Regions from separate parts of the Homo sapiens genome. Here region 1 is linked to region 2. The links are contacts of gene promoters, found by promoter capture Hi-C in blood cells and fetal thymus (Javierre and others, 2016). All regions are on one chromosome and are shown on one strand. The core of a region is centred on a gene start or on the middle of the fragment in contact, and the rest is flanking DNA. Distances in the headings are between cores, read along the strand shown.

Evidence for each region. The method cuts DNA at HindIII sites, captures the fragments that hold promoters and counts their contacts. A CHiCAGO score of 5 or more calls a contact.
Region 1: a fragment that was not itself captured here is called in contact with the fragment with the promoter of ZNF275 in region 2 in 2 of 17 cell types (monocytes and total CD8 T cells); the score reaches 5.4 in monocytes.

Annotation. Positions count from the first base shown.
Region 1 is chrX:153,474,802-153,477,501 of GRCh38, reverse strand. It overlaps a transcript of HAUS7 not described here. Among named protein-coding and RNA genes, the nearest start is that of HAUS7, 5.6 kb to the right of the region's middle. RefSeq lists enhancers at 1-291, 292-792, 988-1,527. The HindIII fragment of the contact is 1,097 bases long and covers 815-1,911 here.
Region 2 is chrX:153,332,805-153,335,518 of GRCh38, reverse strand. It overlaps ZNF275 (zinc finger protein 275), which reads right to left and starts at 1,366. Exons shown (of 4, transcript NM_001367757.1): 1 at 1,234-1,366. MIR12129 (microRNA 12129) reads right to left here and starts at 57; the gene lies at 1-57. RefSeq lists silencers at 1,033-1,112, 1,203-1,572. The HindIII fragment of the contact is 4,020 bases long and covers 1-2,714 here.

The DNA.
Region 1 (2,700 bases), core at 114-2,613, 140 kb before region 2:
AGTGGGGCTCACCCAAGTCTCGATACCAGAGGCCAGTCCTCCTGCCTCCTGGTCCAGGCATCGCCTGAGAAACGGGGTAGGTCCCTGCCTGAGCTGAGCCTAGCACCTGGGGTCGGGAGACTGGACGGTGATGGGAACCCCGGCTCCGCCCCTCCCCCTGCCTGGGGATGGATTCTGGAATCCTGGCCCCCTACCCATTTCCCCTGTTTGCGCCGCTCCCCAGGCGCTGACTAAACATCCTGCCATCTGGTTCCCATTAGCTGGGCTGGGGGTGGGGGAAGCCTGCTCCCAGGTTTCTCTGGCACAGCCAGCCTGGAGGAGGGAGGGACTCCGCTCCTACCCACCTAGGCAGGAAGGGGTGAGGCCTGGGGTGCTCTCAGTTCCCAGCTCCCATGGAGGCCTGGCCTCGCTGCCCTTCCCCTGGTCGGGAGCCTGGTGGCTGACCTGGGTGGGCCCCTGGGGAGTGGTACTCCTGCTGCCCACTCTGTCCAGTCCCAGGGCACCCGGCCATTGTGGGGACCTTGAAGGAACCCCCATGGAGCAGAGCCAGCCTTCAGGGGCTCAGCAGAGCCAGAGGCTCCCGGCAAGTTTCTGCCTTGCCCTCCCCCCCGCCCAAGAGCTCACTGACGGACTTGTGCTGAGACAGGCAGGCCCCAAGCCAACAGTAATCCCGAGCCCGGTGTCTGGAGCAGAGGGTGGGAGGGCTGTTGGGATTTTCCAGGAACCAGGGATGCAGCCCGAGGGTTGCTGGAAAGAGCTTTGGGCTCCCAGTTCTGCCATGGACGGACTGGCCATGTGACATCAGGAACAAGCTTCCCTCCCTCCTCAGTGCCCCAGTCTTCTCATTTCAGTATGGTGGAAACAGGCTCCTTAGAAAGTTCTAGAATCTGAGAGCCAGAAGGCGCCTAGAGAAGCTGGATTACATGATCAAGGTCGCTTCTAGTTGTACAATCCCAGGATTCTAAGGTCAAGGAAGGGACTCCTGTCCCTTGTCCTCCTCCCCCTTCCCTTCCATGTAGCCCACTCTTCACACACTCATGCACACACATACCCTCTACAAGCTGGGACTCAGATTGGTAGCCTGGAGGATGCCAAAGCAATGCTGTTTGTCCCTCAAGGCTGTCATCAACGAGGACTGGACAGTGGATTCTTTGCTCACTGACAGGGGATCAGGTGAGGACCGTGAGAAAGTGACATTTGGGCAGAGGCATGAGTGAAGAGGCCATGGCCATGCAAAAAGCCACAGAAAGAGCCCTCCGAAAAAGAGGGATGGCCAGTGCAGAGGCCCCAGGTGAGAAAGGGTTGGGCCCAATTTGAGCATTGGCAATGACAGCAATGTGGTGGAGCAGGCTGAGTGAGCCGTGGGAAGGTGTCTGTGGCGGTGGGCTGGCTTGCCTTTGTCCTTGAAAGAATCAGGGAGCCACCTTGGACTGCTAAGCAGAGGAGTCACAGGATCCGGCCCCCCTCAGGCTGTGGGGTGGAGCACGAGCAGATGTACTGGGGGCATAAGGGTAGGAGGTGGGAGCCACCGTGTGGCAGCTGAGCCCGCCAGGGGCCAGGTGATAGTGGCTGGCCAAGGGTGGAGGCGGGGTTGCGAGGAGGAGCGGGTGGGGTCAGGAGCATTTGGGCCTCAGGGTCAAGGTCTGGGGGCTGTTCCTGCTCTCCTGCTCTCCTGCTCTCTGCAGGAGCACCTACTACGTGCCTGTCCTTTTCCCAGGGCCCAGGGCAGCCAGAGACACAGCCTTGGGGTGACCCCCAGAGAAAAGGAACAGGCCCATTCTTGAGCTTTCCACATGTTGTCTGAGTGAAAACGACAGCAGTGTGTGGCACATGGGTGGCATTCTCTGGGGACATGCGCCTGCAGCTATCTTATATGTCAGTAACAATATGGGGCCTTTCCCCCTTAAAGCTTGGAGAAGAAAAAAGCCCCATTTTCCATGCCCTCTTCCTGTTGCCCGCAACTCTTCCCTAGAGGAAACCCATCTTATTTTAATGCTACTGAAACCTCAGAGGATCTGGTCCCAATTAAATGACTTTTCTTGCAGACGCTTTGGTGAGCACTAAATGCTTGAGACCTGGTGATCCTGAGCGAGAGAGCCTGCTGCGGGGTGGGGGTGGAGAAGAAAAAGGAGGGAAGGGGAACACAGGACCCCAAATGGGACAAGGGTGGCTGCGGATGGGGTGGAGGGTGCCAGTGGAGGGGGACTGCAGAGGGTGGCACGCAGCAGGGACCAGCCCATAGGGAGCAGGGCCGTGGTCGGGATGGGGGCAGAATAGGGGCCAGTTTCCCACCCTCTTTGCCCGTGTGAAATTCGAGTTCATTCCCGCCCATAGCGTGGCTTCGCTGGACTCCGTGTGAAAGCGGCCCCGCCCCATCCCCTCCGGTGGGCTTCGAGGACCTCGGCAGGGAACGGAGGTTGGGCAGAAGCTGGAGCTCAGGCCCGGCCGGGGAGCTCGGGCAAAGCAAGAAGGCGAGGCGGGCGCCCCCTCCCCCGGCCGGCCCTCCGAGCGGGCACGTTCGTGTTCCCGTCCTGGCGCCCTCGCTTCCCGCTCCAGACGCATGTGACTCAGCCCCGCCGGCCTTGCCAAGCCGTCTAGACCCGAGCGTCTCCCCGCGGAGGGGGCGATCCCGCCCGCCGCCGTTTCCTTTGCCGCCGCCTGCGCGGCTGCGCCCCGCGCACGTGCAGCAGCGCTCGCCCC
Region 2 (2,714 bases), core at 117-2,616:
CAGTACATCCCCCTAGTAACATTTTGTGGGGATGTACTGAACTGGGCCAGATACTGTGCAAGTGGCTTCTACTTGAAGGTCCAATGTTGCAGGGTTGGGGGAAGGTGAGGGTGGGGAGGGGCTGAGGCAGCATTAGTACCTAGGGGAGGTGCTGTTCCAGCAATCCCATCTGAAATTCTCTTGTAAAGGAAAAATGTCGGGCTGAGGTTGAAGAGGAAATGTTTCATTGACTAAGGAGACTGGAGGGGGCCGCATGCCCAGCTAGGTCAAGGCTGGCTGGAGGGCTTCAGTTGGAACAAGGTGGCAGGGTGGGACCTCTGGGAAGTGGGCCAGGAATGGGGGCAGGGGGTTGTTTGAAAGGGACCATGGACTTTGGGCGGCAGGCGAGTGGGGGGTGTGTGTGGAAAAGATATATAATTAATCACCCAAATATAGACTGGAGGAGCCAGCAAAGGAGTTTAAGGGGGCGGGGGCACTGAAGTGGGAGATGGCGGCCCCCAGTAGGGCGACAGAAAAAGACTGGTTCAGACAGAGGGCCTTGAGCTCGGCTCACCGCCCCCTTTCCCCTGCCTCTCCACAGCTCTCTCTCTAGGCTACCTACCGGCCCCCATTCTCCCCACCAAGCTGAGGCTTAACCGCCCCCCCCCACTCCCACCCACTCAAAAGGAAAGGAGGGACTCCCCAGCGGGAACTGTTCCCACCTGGCCCACCCTCCCAGCTCCCAGACTGCGGCTCAGTCCCTCCCCTAGACCAGGGAAAAGTCCTTTAACCCCCACCCCTACAATGCCCCCTCCAGATCGGGCTCCTAGGAGCTAGGGGCAGGGGTCCTTTCTCTCCGCCCCTGAGCGGTTCCCATCTCCTAGCGTCCCCCAAAGAGCAGAGCAGGCCTCTACACTTTAGCGATTCCCACCCGGGATCGCCGCCCCCCGCCCGCCTCGGGAAGGCCTTCGGGCCTCTTCGTACTCGTCATCCGGGACCCGTTCCCTGCTCTGGCCCGCCCAAGGCCGAGCAGCTCTCCAACTGCCCAGAGACGCCCCCTCCCTCCACCGTGCACTCTTCTGCGGCCCGCACACTCGCTCCAGCCCCGCACACAGTCCTGCACCCCCTGCACATCCTCTCGCGGCCCTGCACGCTCACTCAGGTCCACACGTCCTCCTGCCGCCCCCACGATCACCTCCGCCCTGCGGCCCCTCCAGCGCCCCCCGCACATCCTCCCGCGGCCCGCACACTCACCCAGGCCCGGCGGCGGCCGACGCGCGGCCCTCGGTGGAGCGGCGCTGGCGCGGCCCAGGCAGGCCTGGCGTGGCAGGAAGCGCCACGGAGCCGCCCGTGCCCAGCCGAGCTAACAGCCCCGCGGCGCGTTTCCGGAGCCGTGAGCGCCGCCGGGGGTTCTGAGGGAGCGAGGCCCCGCCCCGGCCCCAGTCTCGTCCCCGATTGGCCCGGGAAGGGGGCGTGGCGGGAAGGGGGCGGGGTTTGGGCGGGGGCGGACTGGGCAGGCAAGTCTGATCAGCCTGCGGGGGAGCGGCGCGCGCGGGCTGGACGCTTGGGTGGAGGTGGGGAGGAGTGGAATGAGCGTGCGAATGAATGAATGAACGAGCGAACAAATCGACCAGCAGACGAAGGAAGGAACGAAGGAATGGAAGGGACCTCTCCCCCTTGGGCATCTTCAAGATGGTGGTGGGGGGAGTGAAGGGTCGGGAACTGAGGGCGAAGACTGGAAAGCCAGTATTCTGTATGAATGGAATCAGATCGTATGTACTATTGTGTGTCTGGATTCTTTCATTCAACGTGATGTTTTCAAGATTTATCTATGTTGTTGAATGTGCTATCGCTGAGTAGTATGCTATTGTTTGGATATATCAGAGTTGGTTTGTTCATTCACCAGGTTATGATCTGGGCTGTTTCCAGTTTGGGCGATTATAAATAAAGCTACTATGAATATTCATGTACACATCTTTGTGTGGACATATGCTTTCATTTTTCTTGGGCAAATACCTAAGAGATGAATTGCCACATCACAGGATAGTTTTATGTTTTATAAGAAACTGCCAGAATGTATTCCAAAGTGGTTGTGCAATTTACATTCCCACCAGAAATGTATGCGAGCTCCTTTTCTTTCCCATCCTCATCAACATTTGAGGTTGTCAGCCTTTATTTTTAGCCATTTGAAAGGGTGGGAAGTGGCATCTCATTGTTATTTCAATTATCATCTCCCTGATGACTAATTATGTTGAGTATGCTTTTATGTGCTCACTGGCCATTTCTATATCTTTCTTTGTAAAGTGTCTGTTCAAGTAGTTTGCCCAATGTTATGTGCAGTATATATATATGTATATATATGTGTGTGTGTATATATAGAGAGAGAGACAAAAGAGAAAGCTAGCCCATTATGTGCAATGTGTGTGTATATATGTGTGTGTGTATGTATGTATATATATATACACACACATGTAGTTCCTGAGAAATTTTATGTTTTCAACTTTCATTTTAGATTTAGGGGGTACATGTGCAGGTTTGTTGCCTGGGTATAGTGTGTGATGTTGAGGTTTGGGGTACGAATGACCCTGTCATCCAAGTACTGAACATAGTACACAATAGTTAGTTTTTAAACCCTTGACCCCTCCTTCCCTGACCCCTCTTGTAGTTCCCATTGTTTGTTGTTCCCATCTTTATGCGCACGAGTACCCGATGTTTAGCTCCCACTTATAAATGAG